Regions from separate parts of the Homo sapiens genome. Here all the other regions are linked to region 1. The links are contacts of gene promoters, found by promoter capture Hi-C in blood cells and fetal thymus (Javierre and others, 2016). All regions are on one chromosome and are shown on one strand. Each heading gives the region's core, a stretch centred on a gene start or on the middle of the fragment in contact. The rest is flanking DNA. Distances are from core to core; before and after follow the strand shown.

Region 1 (2,940 bases), core at 294-2,793:
CACAACCTCACACATGATTTTACACAGCTTCCTATAATGGGGGAGAAAAGCCCTTCTTTTAAATCTAATGTTAGTTTAAATGCTAAGGCTTTCAAAGTGGGCCTTTAAAGTCACTTTTTAGAATTTGTATTTTTTTTTAACCTAAAATAGACATGCCAACATTATTCTGACTAAAAGAAGTAGACAAGGTCATTCAACTCCTAAAAGCTTATTTTCCAAAAGCACAGTTAGGTCTCAGCTTTCAGGGTGCTTCTGGCTGTATCAAAAAGACAGAATATACTGGTCACTGTGTTGTTTTCTGAAAGTGCCGAGGGTAATCTGTGTATGAGTTAAAGGGCCAATTTCCTATAGGAACCTTCTCTTAGATGGGATTTTTTTTTAATTAAACAATGTTGGTGAAATATATTTAAACGTAAATCACAAATTCGAAGTCTTCCAAATATTTATTTACTAATGTGGAAGACATGGAAACTACAGTAATCTCATTTAAAGGAAGTTACTTTGATGTGCATTTGCTTTTGGCGGGGTATGATTGCTGACCTGCCTTTGAGGGCAACTTCCTTTGGCTCAGGTAAGCAGGCAAACCCGTTTCTCCAAGGCGATTCCAACCCCACGCCCCTCAAAACCTTAAATCTTAAATTGAGTTATTGGGTGCAGGTCCTTTCTCCCACAGAACCTCCCAGCTTCCGGAATAGAGGAGCGGGGCAGAAATATCCTGCTTTTTATTTCAGAGCTGACGTTTGCAATCCTAGTGCACTAGCGGAAAAAAAAAAAAAAAAAAAAAAAAAAAAAAGCTGAATTTTCCGCGCTCTCCTGGCAAATTGGCGTCCGCTCTCCGACGCTAAACCAAAGGAAAAGGAGTGTTCAATGGCGACAGGGCGCTCTTTGAAGCCGGCTCCTCACGCGGATTCTGGCCCAGGCCGCCGCTCCGGTCCCAGTCCGGCTGCAGAGCGAATTGGAGAGGATGGCACCTCCTGCTTCCCGGGGGGCGGAAGGAGCGCCAGCGCCTAAGGTGGGTCACCTGCCAGGAAGGGAATACGCATGGTGCAGACTCACGTGGGAGGAGCACAGGTCCCGGGTACAAGTGCCGAGCTGGCGACTTAGAGAAGAGGTAGACTCGGGCTCAGACCAAGCAGGCGTAAGGGAGTAGACGGGACGTCCCGTGTTTGCAGTGACGGCGGAGTCACCCATCCCAGCAGCCTCACCTTCTTGGAGCGCTGGTCCCTCCCCTTGGACTGAAACCCCAGGGGCCACCGCACCGGGTGGGCGGGACCGACTACTACCCGACCAGCCGCTGGAGCTGCGTGCCAGGCGGGGCTGTGCGGAGCAGCTGAGCGCAGAGCGGAGCACCAGGCACCTAGCGGGCCGGACTCTGGGCGGCACCCGAGCGGGCCGGGCAGCAGTGGGCGCTCGCGATCCTCCTCTGCCCAACGCGCTCTCCCTCCGGGCCCGGCCTCCTCCGTCCCCTCCTTTTGCTCCCGCTCCTCCTCCCGCTCCTCCCCCTCCTCGGGATTGAGCACCAAAACGCCCGCCTGCAAGGTCCTCTGCGCCCTGGCAGCCAGGAGTCGCCGCCACGACAGCCGGGTCTCAGTGGGTGCCTGCGCCTTCTCCCCGCCCGCCTGCCCCGGGCCATCCAGAAACTTGCTCTACCCGCCGCGGGTGCTCGGCAGTGCTGCCCATGGCCCAGCCTAGGAGCCTATTTAGGGCGCCGGACGGGCTGGACAGAGGCGCGGCTCAGGTGAGTGCGGCGCGCGCGGGGTGGGAGAGTGGCAGGACGCAGGTGTAGAGGGCTCCGAGGTGCCTTTGTCTGGCGTTCTGGACTTCGGGCAAGTGCAGAACCTAAGAAGAATCGAGGCTGGAGCAGGTGGAGTGGATGCAGAGGGAACCAGGAAGCAAAGGCTGGGGATTTTCCCATCCTCCTCACCTCCTGCCCTAGCACCTCTGCTCTGGAAGTCCCGAGGGACCGGTTGATCTGTAAGGACAGGGACCCAGATTTCTGACTCTTACTGGGTTGGATGTTTTCCCCCCCTGCAGAGTCGTGAGGTTCGCTCCTGCCGGCCGCTTCGCGACCGCAGCTTCACCATAGGACCCTGTAGGGCAGCGAGAGCGCAGCACTCAACGGATCCTGGGTACCACCTGGGGCCAGAAACTGGGGCGAGGACACAGCCCGCAAAAGTAACTCGGCTGAGGGAGCCTTTGGGGGTGGAGAAGCCTTGGTCGGGTTTGCCTTTGCATTTGGTTGGAGATAGGCATCTCCCAAAGAGAGAGATTGAGGTGACAGCCCTGACAATAAACCTCTCATCCCTAATGCCAATTACATGAGGGTCTTGATTTTTTTCTTGTTACTTTTTACTGATTTTTTTCCCCCTTCGTGGTTTTCTATTTCCGGGCCCTTGGGTAGTGGCAGCGGATGGAGGTGAGGGATGGCGGGGTGCGAACCCGCGGTTGGAACGCCTAGACCCCAGCTCCCAGGAAGGGTCTTATTCGCGGAGCTTGACCTCTCCAGGTGCGCTCTACCAGCCAGGGGGCGGACGGCGCGCTGCTCCTCCTTCTAGCCCCAGCCTGTCCCAGGAAGCGGAGGACAGACCCAGAACGTAGGCGGATGATGGGAAGAAGAAGCTGGAGCCAAAGCCGGGTGCCGGCGCGGGATGGGGTGTGCTGGGCTCTGCAGTTATAGGTCTATAACTCTGCAGTTATAGGCGCTATAGGTCTTCCATCTCTTTCCCTCCCCTGGGAGCCAGCGATTCCTCGCACACTCAGGGCGCTCTCTTGGGCCAAGGGTTGCATCCTCCCTCTTCCTCCTCCTTTGCAGATCCAGTGGTACCCTTGCCTCGCCTTGCGCGAGTCTCGCTCCTCCCTTTCCCACAATGTTATCATGAGCTATTTTTATCTACAACTTGTGCCAAGATGCTTTTGGGGGGATTCTAGGGAGGCCACTCC
Region 2 (2,940 bases), core at 183-2,682, 760 kb after region 1:
GACAGGGTTTCACCATGTTAGCCAGGATGGTCTCGGTCTCCTGACCTCATGATCCGCCAGCCTCGGCCTCCCAAAGTGCTGGAATTACAGGCGTGAGCCACCGCGCCCGACTCTATGTCTTTTAATGATTCCACCCTATGCCAAGGGCCTCTTCTGTAAGAGGAGAGGTTTTCCCCTTTTATGAGGACTTTCAGTGGCTTTGTCTTTTAGCCAGGGAGTTGGTCTCTGTTGAACATGGCTTCTCACCAAGCTTTCCAAAGGGAAACTTTGTGATTTCAGCTTTACAGTCACCTTAGATTTGAAGCTGGCAATGCGTAGGCCAGAGGACAGCCAAACCGTCACCATTTCACAAATGTTAGCTTCCTCCCATTAGGATGAGTCCACGGGGAGCCTTCACACTTGACTATCTGACACCTCAACATTAGGAACCTGCCTTGAAGAATAACTCTTCTTCTTTCCTAAAGCTCAGAGCATCCTTTTCCTCCCCTAGTCCCAAACTCTTCTTCACTCTTTCCTCTTGTGCACCCTCAGGCCAGTCAATCCGTATGGGATTGCTGCTGGCCTGCCCCAAAGTAAAAAGTAAATATTAAAATTAGAACGCCTCCATCAGTACGCTTACACATTAAAGAGAAATGCATAAGCTGGCACCACACAAATGAAAGGTAAGATGCCCTAGTACACTCCACATTTTATTCTCCACCTTCGGGTTTCCTGTCCAGGGTGTCCTGAGCTGGGAGATGCTGTTGATCTAAGGGCAGGCTGCACAGCAGCAGTGTCAGCATCACCAGGGAGCTTGTTAGAAACACAGAATCTCAGCTGCTACAGCCCAGCCCAGGCATGCTGAGTCGGAATCCATACTTTTACAAGATCCTCGGTTGATTCTTGGACACATTAAAGCCTGAGAAGTGCTGAACTAGAACAGGAGTTCCCAGCACCGTTTCCTTCCTGGCACACTTGAGAACTTATCCACAGCAGTCGCCAAGGCATGACTCAGAGAAGGAGCCACATGTCAGGCTGGGTGTGAGTGTAGTTTGGAAATGTGTGCCCCCCATCACCACACACACAGAGGTTTTCCTTTTGCTGTGCCTTGTGGGGTAGTTCTCACTTCCTTTGTCAAAATTATTAACCCAGTCAATTCAAGGTAGTAGATTTTAAACCTGAAGGAGCGTTAGAATCATCAGGGAGGCTTTAAACAAAAACAATTTCAGTGTCCTTCCCCAAAGCAAAGAAACCAGAATAGTCAGACATCATTCCTTTTTTTTTTTTACTTGTTAATGCTCAACTGAATGTAATCTACATCCAGTTTTGTGGAATAATGTCTCATAATTCTATAATCTGGAATTTCTTACAATTTTATAACCTGGAATCCTAAGCAGACTTTGTAACTATGACTAATTCCTTACTATCTGCCTTAGTCTTCTCGGGTGGCTATAACAAAATAGCTCAGACTGGGTAACTCAGGAACAACAGAAATTTATTTCTTACAGTTCTGGGAGCTGGGAAGTCCAAGAACATGGGGCTAGCAGATTTAGTGTCTGGTGAGAGTGCTTCCTGATTCATAGACAGCCGTCTGCTTGCTGTGTCTTCACATGGTAAAGAAGGCAAGGAATGTCTCTGGGACCTCTTTTATAAGGGTGCTAATCTCATTTCACGGGAGTTTTGCCCTCTTGGCCTAATCAGCCCCCAAAGGCCCCACCTTTTAATACCCTTACCTTGGTGATTAGCTTTCAACATATGAAGTTAAGGGGTTCACAAACATTTAAATCATAGGACTATCTCTCACTAAGCACTTTTACAATGAAAATTTTATAAGTATAAATGAATGGATGATATAGAAATATATATTGTATATGTACATGTGTATGTGAACCTATGGGTATATATGCATGTATATGTATGCAGACATACAATACAAGCACATGCACACATATGTTTTTATATGATTGTATCAGTTCAGTCAAAAGCATTTATTGAGTATACATAAATCATATACAAATTTATTTATTGAGTATACATTTCACACACCTCATTTATAAAGTTGAATAAGATCTAGTCCCTGCCCTCAAAGAGCATTAGCCATATGTAAAGAGAATTATTTCCGTATTACATAGAGAGTGATGAGAAAACTCCACAAGTACTAAGAAGGGATCCGGATGTCATGATTCTAAATTGCTTCGGAAATTAGCAGGCTATTTTTCATTGACTTTCCCTGCAACAAAACTTGCAGCTTCCCTAGCAATCCATTAAACTTCAGAAAGCCTCATTCCTCGGTGCTATTAGAGAAGAGCAGACAGACCCACTAGCGGCCCCATTACACCGCTGGGGCTAGATAAGGGCATCTTGGGGTTTGGTTTCCAGTACCTCTTCATCATTCTGGACAGGACTGATAAGAACCTTGACGCTGTGGTTCTGAGTGCTTTGGAAGAGACAAAGTCACCTGAGTGATTGCTTCTGGGCTCTTTCCAGTAAGCCAATGCCCTGCACTGGCCACCCAGGCTCTTTTGGGAATTTGGGTGAAAGTCACTCTTGCACATCCCAGATTGGGGATAGATCAGAGAGCAAAGGTCTCCAGAGTGTCCACTTTGAAATAAGGCTTAAGCAGTTATTAAGCTTGTTTTGTTCATTGGTGAAATTGTCTCCAGTATTGACGGAAATTTTAGAAAATATACAAATTACAAAGAAGAATGAAAATTGCCAATTATCCTAACACCCAGCACTAACTTGCTACAGTTGTCTTAGTTTATTTTTCTATATCTATGTGTAATATCTTAAAATTTTAGAAAATCTACTTTTAAAACTCATTGTTTTAAGTCATTCATTTAATAACAATGTTTCCTTTTCTGAACATTGTCTTACATGATTAAATTTTCTTTAAAATCATGGTGTTTTGAGCTATGACTTAAATAAGGTTTCTCACCCCTTCTCCACAATTTCAAAGTC
Region 3 (2,940 bases), core at 121-2,620, 750 kb after region 1:
TTCACGATTTTACCAATAAAACTGAGAAGCATCAGGTTAGATATCAGCAATAACGAAAAAATCACACACACACACACACACATACACACACACAAACAGAATTGTGGAATAGAGCTATCATAGGACCAATTTTTGTGTTTATTATTTATTTTTTGTTACTCTTATGGGCAGAATATTTGGGAATCATTATTGTGATTATTCTGCTTAATTTTAATCATGTCTTCCAAAGAGCAATGACTTACAGGTTACCATTTAAGTGTTGCTGATAGACAAGAAACGCTCATCATTTCTCACTTTTTAAGTAGGTGTACTTAATTCTTACTTTACAAAACGGATTCTGAAGTTCAGGCAGGCTCCATGCATTGTCCATTTCATGCAATGAATAGGAGGATATGCCAGAAATGAGACCCAGGTCCACCCGAGCCCCGAGCTCCTGCTCTCGGCATGGTGCTCCATGAGTACCCTGCTGATGTTCCCAGGTTCATGATCAGGGCATCAATCACTGTCTTCCAAACTAGTCAACAGCATTTAAGGAACTCCCAGATACACCACAAGCATTAGCAAAATATGTATTTTAGTTGTTTCTTTTAAATTTCATTGGTGATACTAATTGAAACACTGCTTCCTAAACACTTATGCATGAGAATCAAAATCCTATTGTGTTTAAATGGTACTGTGGTTTGTCATTTGAACTAAGATGAGCCAAAAGGTCTAGATACAACATGAAAATTTAATATCCATGTGATTGGATGATAATCTTTAACAGTGGTAGGTTCTGTGTTCAATTTCGTGTAAGATAAAGATAAGGGCTGACTAATAGCCTAGGCCCAAACTCTGAGAGGGCTGAATTTTTGTGGACTGCCTAAGGACCACATTTCACCATCAGTTTTGAAGACCCAGAAAGCTAATTGTATCCAAGGCACACAGAGTTGATGGAGCTCAAGAGGTCAGTTCACTCTGGTACTTTGACCTATGTATCCATCTTTGGTGATTTTGTTCAAGTGTACTCAAATTATAAGTTCAGATGATTGGCATATTCCCTCCCAGGAGACAAATGTACACAGGAAACTAAATTGATATTGGGCAGTAGCTTGTTGAGCACTAAGTCAGAGCTGTGTAATTTCAAAAGCTGGATTTGCTGAGCTATGGGTGGTCTGATGCCTTGGCAGGCACCTGGAAAGCCAGTCTGCCCCATGGTTACCTGTAGAAATTTATATATATATATATATCAGGACGTCCTCACTCATGGGCAAGTCTAGGGATCTCCCGATCAGCTTTATCTGTCTGGACTCTTTACACAGGACACCTCCACACAGTCCCCATCCCAAACTCCTACTTCTGATACATGCTGTTTTCACTATACCACGCCATCCAGTCGTTGAGACATGGATAGTGTGGGTTTGAAATCAGTTACTTCCTAGCAATATGGTTTTAGACAAGTTATTTAACTCCTCAGAACCTCTGTTTATCCTTTATAAAATGGAATAAAAATATCTACTGCTCGAATTTGTGGTGAGAAATGAGATTCAGTACATAAAAATGCATATCATGGTGACTAGTAATTATTAAATACAAAGTAAATGGTAGTGGCTATTATCATCATTCTTAGCATTATTATTATGAGTTTATTTTATATTTAAACAAACCTTCCTTAGATTCTTGGCCTTTGTCCCTTTTTTGTCTTCTTTTTTAATTATTATTATACTTTAAGTTTTAGGGTACATGTGCACAACGTGCAGGTTTGTTACATATGTATACATGTGACATGTTGGTGTGCTGCACCCATTAACTCATCATTTAGCATTAGGTATACCTCCTAATGCTATCCCTCCCCCCTCCCCCCAACCCACCACAGGCCCCAGTGTGTGATGTTCCCCTTCCTGCGTCCATGTGTTCTCATTCTTCAATTCCCACCTATGAGTGAGAACATGCGGTGTTTGGTTTATTGTCCTTGCGATAGCTTGCTGAGAATGATGGTTTCCAGCTTCATCCATGTCCCTACAAAGGACATGAACTCATCATTTTTTATGGCTGCATAGTATTCCATGATGTATATCTGCCACATTTTCTTCATCCAGTCTATCATTGTTGGACATTTAGGTTGGTTCCGAGTCTTTGTTATTGTGAATAGTGCCGCAATAAACATACGTGTGCATGTGTCTTTATAGCAGCATGATTTATAATCCTTTGGGTATATATCCAGTAATGAGATGGCTGGGTCAAATGGTATTTCTAGTTCTAGATCCCTGAGGAATCACCACACTGACTTCCACAATAGTTGAACTAGTTTACAGTCCCACCAACAGTGTAAAAGTGTTCCTATTTCTCCACATCCTCTCCAGCACCTGTTGTTTCCTGACTTTTTAATGATCGCCATTCTAACTGGTGTGAGATGGTATCTCATTGTGGTTTTGATTTGCATTTCTCTGATGGCCAGTGATGATGAGCATATTTTCATGTGTTTTTTGGCTGCATAAATGTCTTCTTTTGAGAAGTGTCTGTTCATATCCTTTGCCCACTTTTTGATGGGGTTGTTTGTTTTTTTTCTTGTAAATTTGTTTGAGTTCATTGTAGATTCTGGATATTAGCCCTTTGTCAGATGAGTAGATTGCAAAAATTTTCTCCTATTCTGTAGGTTGCCTGTTCACTCTGATGGTAGTTTCTTTTGCAGTGCAGGAGCTCTTTAGTTTAATTAGATCCCATTTGTCAATTTTGGCTTTTGTTGCCATGCTTTTGATGTTTTAGACATGAAGTCCTTGCCCATGCCTATGTCCTGAATGGTATTGCCTAGGTTTTCTTCTAGGGTTTTTATGGTTTTAGGTCTAACATGTAAGTCTTTCATCCATCTTGAATTAATTTTTGTGTAAGGTGTAAGGAAGGGATCCAGTTTCAGCTTTCTACATATGGCTAGCCAGTTTTCCCAGCACCATTTATTAAATA
Region 4 (2,940 bases), core at 144-2,643, 730 kb after region 1:
TATTGAAATGCAAAAACTTCATGAGTGTATCAGGGTTCTCCACACAAACAGAGCCAATAGGAAATATATATATACACACACACACACACACACACATATGCACACACAGTCAGTCCTTTATATCCACAAGTTTCAACCAACCACAGATTAAAAAATATTAGAGGAAAATAACAGTACAACAATGAAAAATAATACCAATAAAAATACAGTATAAGAACTATGTACATAGCATTGATATTGTATTAAGTATTATAAGTAATCTAGAGCTGATTTAAAATATATGGAGTGGCGGGGTGCCGTGGCTCATGCCTATAATTCTAGCACTTTGGGAGGCTGAGGCGGATGGATCATCTGAGGTCAGGAGTTCAAGAGCAGCCTGGCCCACATGGTGAAACCCTATCTCTACTAAAAAATACAAAAATTAGCAGGGTGTGGTGGCAGGCAGCTGTAATCCCAGCTACTTTGGAGGCTGAGGCAGGACAATTGCTTGAACCTGGGAGGTGGAAGTTTCAGTGAGCTGACATGGTGCCACTGTGCTCCAGCCTGGGCAACAAGAGCAAAACCGTCTCAGAAAAAAAAAAAAAAAAATATATATATATATATATAGAGAGAGAGAGAGAGAGAGAGAGAGAGACAGAGAGGATGTACATAGGTTATATACAAATACAATGTCATTTTATGTAAGGGACTTGAACATCCATGGGTTTTTATATCCAATCCTCACAAATAGGAAGGATGACTGTGTGTGTGTGTGTGTATACACACACGTATGTGGTGTGTGTGTATACACGTATGTGGTGTGTGTGTGTATACACGTATGTGGTGTGTGTGTGTGTATACACACATACGTGGTGTGTATGTGTGTGTATACACACACATATGTGGTGTGTATGTGTGTGTTTAAGAGACAGAGAGAGAGAGAAAGAAACGTAAGGAATTGGCTCATACGATCATGGAGGCTGAGAAAGTTCTAGGATCTGCCATCAGCAAGCTAGAGACCCAGGAAACCTGACGTGTAGTTCCAGTGTGTGTTCAAAGGTATGAAAACTGGGAAAGCCAATGGTGTAAGTGCTAGTTCAAAAGTTGGCACCCTTGAGACCAAGAAAGAGTCAACTTTAAGTCTGAGTCTGAAGGCTGGAAAAGACCAATGTCCCCACTCAAGCCGCCATGACAAAAAGAGTTCCCTCCTACTCAGCCATCTTGTTCTGTTTAGGTGTTCAGTCGATCAGATGAGACCTACCCACCTGCAGCAGGGAGAGCAATCTGCTTTACTCACTCACATGTTAATCTCATTCAGAAACACCTGCACAGTAATCCCCAGAATATAGTTTGGCCCAATATCTGGGCACCTCATGGCCCAGTCAAGTTGACACATAAAACTAACTGCTGCAATTAGGGTTCACAAGAGCTCTTTCACTACTTAAGTTGAAAGATGTTCCCTGACCTTTCCTTGAAGATTTTGGTTGGGGGGTGAAAATATCTGAGAAATGTGAGAATTTTGGAAGGAGCTCTATCAAGAGACAGAAGGGACAGGTGGATCTGAGCATGAAAGGAAAAAGCAGAGAGCACCAAGAACAAAATTAGCTTCACAGATTTTCAGAAATATGAACAAACCTGTTTTATATATATTGTCACATTTTATTATTCCAGTAGTCACCCATTTATTTATTTATGTACTCACTTAGCAATTAACATTTACTAAGGGCGTAATAATGGCATGGGTATTTCACCAGGTACAAGGGTCAAAGATTCAACTATAGTATGGACCTTGCCCTCAGAGTGTTCCTGTAAACTTAACCATGTTTATAAATGTATTAAGAATAATGTTTAATAAAACCCTATAATTGCTAGTTTGAAAATTGTCTTTAATGTTATCTAGTGTAAAATCACCACCACCAATGACACCACTCTCACCACCAGAGGCTTCCAATTTACAGACACATGACTATATAGACAAGGAATTTACAAACCACCTCCTGAGTTAATAGTTCATGGATGTTCACCTCTCATAAAGGTCTTAATTCCGAACTACAATCTGCTTATTGCAGCTTTTACCCCCACATACCTACTTATGTTACAGAAATTAACACAAAACGGTCAGCACTTCCATAGACATATATCCTGTTCTGGTCTTCATGGTTCTGTTTGATGATCATGATGATGGAGAGGATGAAGATTAGTATCTACAATTTCTTGGATTCATATTATATGTCATGATTCTTTGATGAGCCTCGTTTTATTCTCACAATTCAAAAAAGCAAAGGCAAGGTGGCTATTGTTCGAATGAGTAGATCAAAATGTAGAAGGATTGGTTACAGTTCAATGTTCCCAGGAGAGTGAAGAGCCAATTTAGGTTTGGGAACCAGTAGGCAGCTTCACCAAGGAGGAGCTAGCAGACAGAAAATTAAAAGCAAATTTATTCTCTACACACCCAGTGGCCGTCCTAAATACAAGAAGAGTCTACTCTGGCATGAGAAGCCATTCTTGTTGGACTGCTGAACTTAGAGAATGAATTATTTGGGAAAGGGGAAGAAGGTGATAATTCTTTTCTCTCTCACACTGTCATCCATCGCCATAATCCTGTTTTCATTGCACTTCTACTTGCAAGGACCACCAGTGGCTTCTTTTGCTCACCAAGGGAGATGATGGACTGGAATTTCCTGGAGACCCTGACCCCAGTTCCAGCAGAGTCTTCCTCATTAAGGCAGTCATGCGGGCTCTTCTAACATTGCTTTAGTTCTCACGAAGCCCCGGCCTGCTCAAGTATTCATGTCTCTGAACTCCGGATGTTAAATGAACCACAGTAAAACTCAGGAATTCCTCATAGGTAACTTTGGGGTGAGAGAAGGCACGGATCCAGTGTCAGTGAGATTGCTGCCTTGAATCTCCATGGTAACCCTGAGTCCAGGTGCACAACTGACTTTTATGAAGGGATTTTAA
Region 5 (2,940 bases), core at 231-2,730, 710 kb after region 1:
GTAGGATCTTAGATTATTGGTTTCAGACTTCATTTTTTTAACATTTGCAGTTAGTGCTCTAAATTTCCCTCTCAGCATTGTTTTAGTCATAGCCTACAAAGTTTTTATGTTACAGTCTCATTTTCATTCAACTCAATGAATTTTTTTTTCAATTTCCACGGAGACATCCTCTTTGACCCATGGGTTATTTAGAATTGTAGCTTAGTTTGAAAGTGTCTGGGGATTTTTCTGGTATCTTTGTTACTGATTTCCAGTTTGATTCCACATTGGCTCTGTATGATTTTAAATACTTTAAGTTTGCCAAGGTTTGTTTTATGTCCCAGGATGTGGTCTGTCTTGATATATGTTCTATGGACACTTGAGAAGAATGTTATTCTGCCATCATCGGATGGAGTATTCTACAAAGGTTGATTCGATGCTACGGTTGATGGTTTTGTTGAGTTCTTCTATACCCTTGATAGTTTTCTCTTGGGTTTTTTCTATCAATTATGGAGAGAAGAGTATTGAAGTCTCCATCTGCAATTGTGAATTCATCTATTTCTTCTTTTAATTCTATCCATTTTCAGTGCATATATTTTATAATTCTGTTTCTTTGTGTGTGTATGCACACACATTTAGGACAGTTAAGTCTTCTTAGTGGGTTGGCCCTTTTATCATATTATGTTCCTCTCTATCTCTGGTAATTTTCTTTTCTCTGATGTCTACTTTATCTAATGTTAATACAGTCACTCTTTCTTTTGATTAATCTTTGTAAATTAATTAAAATTAAAAGATTTATACATTTTCCATCCTTTTACTCTCAAACTGCCTGTATTATTATATTTGACATGAGTTTCTTTTAGTAAGCATATAGTTGGCCTATATATTTTAATCCACTCTGCTAATATCTGTCTTTTAATTAGTGTATTTAGACCATTTACACTTAGTATGACTACTGATACGTTAGGGCTTAAGATTGCTATTTTATTTTCTGTTTTCTGTTTATTCTTTCTGTTTTCATTTCTGTTTTATTTTTCCTGCCTTCCTGTGTGTTATTTAAAAACTTTTTTAGAATTACATTTTGATTTATCTATGGAGTTTTTGACTGTATCTTTTTGAAGAGGTTTATTTATTATTTTTAGTGCTTGCTCTAGGTATTAGCATTATACATTCAACATTTACTACAGTCAACACAGTCTGGTGTTGTCATTTTACCAGTTCAAATAAAATATGGAAAAATTACCTCCTTTCCCATCTCTCCTTCCACCTTCCATTTATAATATAATTATCATGAATATTTCCTTTATATACATTTAGAACATATTAGACGGGTTGTAATTTTTGCTTTACCATTAAACATAATTTTGAAGACTCAAGAGAACAAGAAAAATCTATTTTGTTTATCCATATTTTAGCTTACTGTGTTATTTCTTTCTTTCTGATGTTCCAAGATTTCTTAACATATTTTTTTTGTTGTTTTGTTTAGAGAACTTCCTTTAGCCATTTGTTAAAACAGGTCTGCTTCTGCTAGTGACGAATTCTTCTAGTTTTTTTTTTGTTTTTCTTTATCTGAGAATATTTTAATTTCTCCTTCATTCCTGAAAGATATTTTACTAGATATAAAATGCTGGCTTTACAGTTATCTTATTTTCTTCAGGACTTAAAAAATATTGTGCCACTTTTTTTCTGGTCTCTATGGTTTCCGATGAGAAATTCACTGCCAATCAACGTACTTTTTCTTTATATGATATTGTTTCTCTCTTGCTGCTTTCAAGATTTTTTCTTTGTCTTTAGTTTTCAGAAAATGACTATTTGGGTTTTTTGTGTTTGTGGTTCATTTAGCTTCTTGAATATGTGGATTTATGTATTTACAAAATGGGAGAGTTGTCAGTATTTATTTCTCTGAGTATTTCTTTCAACCCTTCCCTCTTTCTCCTCTCTTTCTTGGGCTCCAATGGCATGAATGTTAGATCCAACACGTTTTAATTGTTCTACTTCCAGTTCATTGATTCTTTACTCTGACTCTTCCGTTCTGCTGTTGAGCCCATAGATTGAGGTTTTGTATAGAATTTTGTTTTATTTTAATTTTGGTTATTGTATTTTCACTTCTAAAATTTCCATTTGTTCTTCTCTATTTATTCTATTTTCTATAAGACTTTGCTGTTTTTGCTAAGACTCTTATTTTTTCATTTGTTTCAAGCATGTTTGTAATTGCTCATTGAAGCATTTTTGTGATGACTCTTTGAAATCTTCATCAGATAAGTCTTACATCTCTGTTGGCATCTATTGATTGTCTTTTTCTCACCAACTGAAATTTTATGGTTCTTGGTATAATGACTTTTTTATTGAAAACTGCATATTCCAGGTATTATATTATGAGACTCTGGATTTTACTTAAACTTCGTGTTTTAGCTGGTTTCCACTGATACCACTCTGACAAGGGAAAGAAAGAGGCTCCCAGGGATAGTGTGGGTATTGAAGTCCAGATTTCTCACCTGGCTCCATTGATACCTCCCTTTACCAGTGGGGTGGGAGTGCCTCATACAGCTTTTCTGTTTTGTTTTTTGGAGTCTCGCCCTGTCACCCAGGCTGGAGTGCAATGGCGCCATTTCAGCTCACTGCAACCTCTGCCTCCCGGGTTCAAGCAATTTTCCTGCCTCAGCCTCCCGAGGAGCTGGAATTACAGGCGTGCATAACCACATCCGGCTGATTTTTGTATTTTTAATAGAGACGGGGTTTCTCTAAGTTGCCCAGGCTGGTCTCAAACTCTTGGCCTCAAGTGATCTGTCCGCCTCGGCCTCCCAAAGTGCTGGGATTACAGGCGTGAGCCACCACACCCGGCCACGGCTTTTTACTCCACCCCCTCTGATACTACCCCAATGAGGAGGGAGAGAAACACATCACTGTTCAATGAGGCTGAAAGTCTAGGTATCCTACATGGTCTTTACAGACACTGACATG
Region 6 (2,940 bases), core at 193-2,692, 690 kb after region 1:
TCGTTCAGGCTTCTTTTCGGAGGCAGTTTTAAAAATACTGGGTCAATAACTTAGCCTTTGGCAGTCTTGCCTCTCCAGTGGCCTCCATTATTGCTTGAGGGTTCTCTCTAACTCCTGCTCCATTCTTCTGCTTACATATTGTTGGCTAAAAGGCTTTTTTATTCACCCAACAAATCCTATTGATGGTGCGTTGCATATTTATCCTTGCCACACACAACTGCGGTTTGATTCTTTTCTGTTTGCCACTTTCCCAAGAAATTACATTTTCATGTGCATCCTTTGAGAACTGTTTATAAATCCTACTTCTGAGAGGTTTTGCTACAGTTGACTTTTATTCTTTTCCCAAACACAAAGCTCCTCATTGTCTATCCTGTGCAGAGAAACAAAGGTAAAATATACATGTAGTGCTCACCTCCAAAGAATTCATTGTCTGGTGGGAAAATGAGATAAATAGAAAATTATAATAAAATCAGATATGTGAAATGTTAATGATACAGAGTCAAAGATAAAGAAAAAGTAACACAGGCTGAGAGAAGGGCGAGGGGGAGTTCTCAATTCACAATTCACACTACCCAAAACACAGATGGTTTTATGTCATGAAAAGGAATCAATCCTGTGAGTTAACTCAACTTACCTAATGAACTCCCCATTCAACTCCCCATTTGAATACTATCTTTGCATTGTAATTGTATACTTACTTTTATCTTGAAGCCACCAAGAAGCCATTAAAAATTTAAAATAAGAGTCTACTTATTTTGACTTCCACCTCTTTCTCTAGCTGGATTTCTCTTCCTGCTCTACCTTGGATTCTTCTATTCACATGAGCCTTGCTCCTTCACTAAACCGCAAACCCGCACTTCTCTCTCTGAAGCAAGTGGAGCAAGTAAGGAGGCTACCAAAGTCTGACTCACAGAGAACAAGAGGTCAGCACACATCATAATCACCATCATTGTCACCGTAGCAACCATCACGTTGGTTGAGCATTTAGTAAAGATGTGTAGTGGGTGGTATGTGCATTTCACCAATATCCTTAAGAAAGCTTTATGTCACCTCTATTAAGTTGGAATTATTCTCTTTGTTTTGTAGATGATGAATTAGGTGCTCAGAGAGTTCCTGACACTTGCCAAGGTCGTTCGGCTGGGCAATACCTGAACCATTTGGACATAGGCTGGGGACGTGGGCCAGATGCTGTATTAATCAAAACTGGAGCTCACAAGATTTGCCTGATAGTGAACCTAGGACTGTCATTTTGGAACTGCTTAAATCCCACTTTTCTGTTTCAATTCCAAAAGCCCTGGCTATGAGAATGAGGGAGAGGCCAAGAGCACAGAGCAGGCAAAGCTGGCAAGACAACCGCAGGTTCTCCCCCTGCCACTGGAGGGGCTCTTCTGCCCTTGCTGCTCACCAGTCTCTACTCTCATCTTGTTGAATCGGCTGCTCAGTCTCCTGTGGCACAGCCATATGTATTCAAACTCATGTAGGCACAAAGGGCCTGGTGGGGATTGAAACTCAGGTCTCTGAAGTGGCATAATGTGTGCCCCTTTGCTCTGCTAAGGTTACAGGTAATGTATTAGCTGCAAGTTCTGAGTGTCAATTCAGCTTTTTTCTGGCTACCCAACCTTCTGCCAGGTGCTGGACAATTGCTCTCATGATGGTCCAGTACTGCTCTAAGCCTGAGTCTCCTTCCTGTCCCCTGTGCTCCAAGATTGATAACTAGATTGCTGCCCCAACCCTTGGATTCAAGCCTCTTTTAATAACCCATTACTCCCATGATCCCCAATCTTTCAAAGACTGAGCCCCCAACTTTCCTTCTTGGCTATCCTTCTATCCTCAAATAGAAGCTTCCGCAAAAGCCAAACATGTAGCTTGAGCCCAGCTCCTTGATGAAAGAGCTGAGGCTGCTAACTTGCCACCCACTAATTTCTAAGCCTGTCCTCCCTCATGTTCTTGTTATTCTGTCTTTCCTGTCTGCCAAGCCTTATTTTATAATCTCACATTTCACCCTGATGCTAATAAATAGGACAAAGACCAGGAACCCCATAACTGGCAGAATAAGATCTCAACTGTTTAACATAGAGAAGGTGTGCTCATGATGACATAGACCCCAGCAACCTCTTCAGCCTCACTCTTCCCGTCACAGGCTATGCCGACCTGAAATGACCCTGGCCCACAAAACAGCTTGAATTTTCATGGATGCACCATGCTGTTCATACCACTGCCCATTTTTATTTATTGAGATTTTTTTAAAGCATTATCGAGGCCTAATTTGTATACAATAAACTGCCCATATTTAATGTATACAATGTGATGATTTTGGACATACCTGTGAAGCCATCACCACAATATTAAGGCAATGGCTGGGTGCGGTGGCTCACACCTGTAATCCCAGCACTTTGGGAGGCTGAGGCAGGCAGATCACTTGAAGTCAGGAGTTTGAGACCAGCCTGGCCAACATGGTGAAACCCCATCTCCACTAAAAATACAAAAATTAGCCGGGCATGGTGGTGAGTACCTGTAATCCCAGCTACTTGGGAGGCTGAGGAAGGAGAATTGCTTGAACCCAGAAGGCGGAGTTTGTAGTGAGCTGAGATCATGCCACTGCACTCCAGCCTGGGTGACAGAGCGAGACTCTGTCTCAAAACAAACAAACAATAACAAGAAAAAAAAAACACCAATATTAAGGCAATAAACATATCCTGCACCTCTAAATTTTTCTTGTGTTCTTTTTGTTTTATTTGCTTATTTGTTTATTTGGTAAGAAAACTTGACATTAATTTTTTAAATTCGTACTAGAGTATTGATGACTATAGGCACTATGCTGTACAAAAAAATCTCTAGAACTTATTAGTCTTGCATATATGAAAACTTATACAATTTTGTTCTACTTTTTAAACTTATTCATCCTTCAAATCTAGAGCTTAGTTCACCTCCCCTAGGAAG
Region 7 (2,940 bases), core at 292-2,791, 680 kb after region 1:
TCCCCTTTCTCTCTCACTCTCCATATATATGTTGTATATACATATGTATATACATTTATATATGCATTTTAGTGTTTTGTATTCTCCACTTTAGTGTGCTACCATTATTAATCAAACGCACTAAAAAGAATATTTGCGTAACAAATTTGCAGAGCGGTAAGTGCTACATTTTGACTTAGCAGGGAGAGAAAAGGGTGGTTATGTAGCCTAATGCCAAAATGAGACAGGCTTTGGGAGTGAAGTGAGGGGGTTTGCTCTACACTTCACCCACCATAGGCATTTTGGAGCATTTCCAGGTGTTAGAGAGAGTCCTTTCCTGGCTCCAGCAGCCTCCTTCAGCACAGAGGTACTGGATTAAGTACAAAGAGGAGTAAAGAGAATGGGAAAGTTTTTAGGAAGAAAGACTCCAATTTTTGTTTTCCCTAAGAATGGTATGTTTGAAATGTGACCAAAGTCTTCATTACCTAAAATAGTCTCTTTCCCCTGAAAGAAGCTTTGGGAAATGTGGTTGCCACAGAGACTCACAGCTTGAGAGGAGAAAATCCCCAGGGCCTGTGGGATCAGCCTATGATGCAGCCCATATGCATGGCTTTAAGCTTCATGCTGCGAGTCCTTCTTTGAATGACTGTGATCTTCCATCCCCTATCACATGCCTGCAGATCATGGAACAAAATTAACTGAACTCTGCCTCTTGCTCAGCTCAGTTAAGCCTCTCAGAATTGCCAGGAGGAAACAGGAAAGGCCACTCACATGTATCTCAGCGTGGTTGACACCTGGCCCATAATTCCAGTGGAATCCAGCCATCATTTACCAAACATGGACTTCATGCCAGGTTCTAGGCTTCACTCTGGTGACCAAGAATAATAAAGCATAGGTTCTTTCTCAAGGAGTCCCCAGTCAATTTAGAGAGGGCCACTTATGCAGGAGGCAAGGGTCAGGCTATCCACCTTTCAGAGAATCTTGGGAAGTTTCTCGATGGAAGCATTTTTGTTTTGTTTCTTGAGTTGAGCAAGAAACAGCAACGTGAACTATCAGGCAGAGAGTCAGCATGCTCAAAGGGACAGAGCAGGGACAGAGTTGGGATGGCCTGGAGGCTGGAAGCAGCTTGACTAGAAGGCCATTTTTGGAAAAAGATGCTGGGTCTCATTATGAATGCAGAGCTAAAGCATGTGATCATTTATCCTACAGCCAACAGGAAGTTCATAAAAGATTATTCAGATACTCATTCAAGTTAATAGTTCAGCAGCATAAAGAAGGACTTGGAGTAGAGCCACACCGGAGAGGGGAAGATGAGCTAACAAGCCCATGTGAGAGTCTGAGGGAAAGGCAATGGAGGTGGGCCCTCTCCTGGGCAGCAGGGAAAGAATCAAATGAGAGGACAGAGCTCCGTATACATTGTGCACACACGGCCACCACGCGAAGTAATGTTCATGACAATTCAATTTCAACTTTAGAGATAGGAAGAGGAGGTATGGTTTATCCTAGGGCCAACCTCCGGCCTTCTTGGACACAATCCCAATTTGTCCATCCAGGGCAGTCTGTGGACTCAAGGTTTGCAAATGAGGCATGCCTTAATGGCAAAAAGCATAACTTGTCCCCAGAATTTCTGCCAGGTTGATGAATATCTTGAATGCTGTTAAAAAGACATCTTGCCAAGGCGGGCAGATCATAAGGTCAAGAGATCAAGACCATCCTGGCCAACATGGTGAAACCCCATCTCTACTAAAAATTCAAAAATTAGCTGGGCATGGTGGCGTGCTCCTGTAGTCCCAGCTACTCAGGAGGCTGAGGCAGGTGAATTGCTTGAACCCGGGAGGTGGAGGTTGCAGTGAGCCAAAATCGTGCCACCGCACTCCAGCCTGGCAACAGAGCAAGACTCCATTTAAAATAAACACAAACAAACAAACAAAAAGATCTTTGGCACACATGGAGAGGAATTTCAGGGATACAGCTGGGGCCATTAATTTAACCTATCTTCATTTTTGAAAACGTCAAATACAAGTTTTGAGAATAAGTCTCCAGAATTGAAATGTCTTTGCTCAGTCAGTCCCTTTCTAAGTGATTACAGGAGTGACGTCCTGCACGGTCAACTGCAGTCTGAAGCAGGTGTGTTTAGAATATATTAATGGTATTTGCTGGAAAATATAACCATTTCCTGACATTTGTATTAATTTCTTTGAGCTGTTGGCTTATATCTGGATATTAATTTAAATCTCTTCCTAATTTTAATTAGAGGTATGATTTAACAGTGTTGAGTTTTTTTGCTTTTTTTCTTCAAAGAATGAATGTTAACTTTACCAATCCAGGATTTAAAGTATCTGTATTTATTTCAAGACTTAACAATGAGTGGGGATTAATATTTGGATAGGGGATATATAAGTGCATCCACTATGCCTCTGGAAATTAATTAAAAATGTTTTAAGATTTTTAAATGGTTTATTTAGTTAAATCATCCCAAAGTAATGAACTGGAGTAAGCCAAGCTTAACTATAAGTCTTAGGTATTTGAGTGTTTTCTAGTGTCTGTGTTGATCCCACCTCAGTATTCAATAACATTAATATTCATTTCCTTGTCTCATCTCTTGTTTTGCAGCCCTACTGCAAAATGTAGAGGCTGAACCTGTTCACCCATTTCATGTTCAACTGCAGCACTGCTCAATTCCTTTTGTCGTCTTTCTTCAGACATCATGCTGGTCCGTGCCCATTTGTGTATTTTTTAAGCGTGATTCTATTTTTAATTGGCAAATAATAGTTGTATATATTTATAGGGTTCCATGTAATGTTCAATACCTGTATACATTATGGAATGATCAAATCAGGCTAATAAATCCATGCCCATTTGCTTTTGCACCTCCAGTTGCCTCTGTTTGAACCCCCTCTCCAGACCTGTATACACCTCACAAATTCCTGCATATTATTAATAGTCAAAACTTTACTGAAA

The links. The method cuts DNA at HindIII sites, captures the fragments that hold promoters and counts their contacts. A CHiCAGO score of 5 or more calls a contact.
Region 2: a contact is called between a fragment that was not itself captured here and the fragment with the promoter of HS3ST1 in region 1, in 3 of 17 cell types (total B cells, naive B cells and fetal thymus). The highest score is 8.4, in total B cells.
Region 3: a contact is called between a fragment that was not itself captured here and the fragment with the promoter of HS3ST1 in region 1, in 3 of 17 cell types (naive B cells, total B cells and fetal thymus). The highest score is 9.7, in naive B cells.
Region 4: a contact is called between a fragment that was not itself captured here and the fragment with the promoter of HS3ST1 in region 1, in 1 of 17 cell types (naive B cells). The highest score is 5.3, in naive B cells.
Region 5: a contact is called between a fragment that was not itself captured here and the fragment with the promoter of HS3ST1 in region 1, in 3 of 17 cell types (total B cells, fetal thymus and naive B cells). The highest score is 6.1, in total B cells.
Region 6: a fragment that was not itself captured here is called in contact with the fragment with the promoter of HS3ST1 in region 1 in 3 of 17 cell types (naive B cells, total B cells and fetal thymus); the score reaches 7.0 in naive B cells.
Region 7: a contact is called between a fragment that was not itself captured here and the fragment with the promoter of HS3ST1 in region 1, in 1 of 17 cell types (total B cells). The highest score is 8.7, in total B cells.

What each region holds. Positions count from the first base shown.
Region 1 is chr4:11,427,497-11,430,436 of GRCh38, reverse strand. It overlaps HS3ST1 (heparan sulfate-glucosamine 3-sulfotransferase 1), which reads left to right and starts at 1,543. Exons shown (of 2, transcript NM_005114.4): 1 at 1,543-1,738. RefSeq lists a silencer at 1,398-1,577 and an enhancer at 1,668-1,887. The HindIII fragment of the contact is 3,893 bases long and covers 210-2,940 here.
Region 2 is chr4:10,662,556-10,665,495 of GRCh38, reverse strand. All of the region lies in intron 2 of CLNK (cytokine dependent hematopoietic cell linker), which reads left to right. Among named protein-coding and RNA genes, the nearest start is that of CLNK, 21 kb to the left of the region's middle. RefSeq lists a silencer at 2,219-2,396. The HindIII fragment of the contact is 2,360 bases long and covers 253-2,612 here.
Region 3 is chr4:10,679,276-10,682,215 of GRCh38, reverse strand. The region is part of intron 1 of CLNK (cytokine dependent hematopoietic cell linker); the gene reads left to right. Among named protein-coding and RNA genes, the nearest start is that of CLNK, 4.0 kb to the left of the region's middle. The HindIII fragment of the contact is 5,691 bases long and covers 1-2,940 here.
Region 4 is chr4:10,697,161-10,700,100 of GRCh38, reverse strand. It overlaps a transcript of CLNK not described here. Among named protein-coding and RNA genes, the nearest start is that of CLNK, 14 kb to the right of the region's middle. The HindIII fragment of the contact is 4,621 bases long and covers 1-2,940 here.
Region 5 is chr4:10,717,196-10,720,135 of GRCh38, reverse strand. It overlaps a transcript of CLNK not described here. Among named protein-coding and RNA genes, the nearest start is that of LINC02498, 19 kb to the left of the region's middle. The HindIII fragment of the contact is 4,395 bases long and covers 1-2,940 here.
Region 6 is chr4:10,735,536-10,738,475 of GRCh38, reverse strand. It overlaps LINC02498 (long intergenic non-protein coding RNA 2498), which reads right to left and starts at 885. Exons shown (of 4, transcript XR_925377.3): 1 at 699-885; 2 at 1-370. The HindIII fragment of the contact is 802 bases long and covers 1,042-1,843 here.
Region 7 is chr4:10,751,855-10,754,794 of GRCh38, reverse strand. The region is part of intron 2 of LINC02498 (long intergenic non-protein coding RNA 2498); the gene reads right to left. Among named protein-coding and RNA genes, the nearest start is that of LINC02498, 16 kb to the right of the region's middle. The HindIII fragment of the contact is 1,886 bases long and covers 599-2,484 here.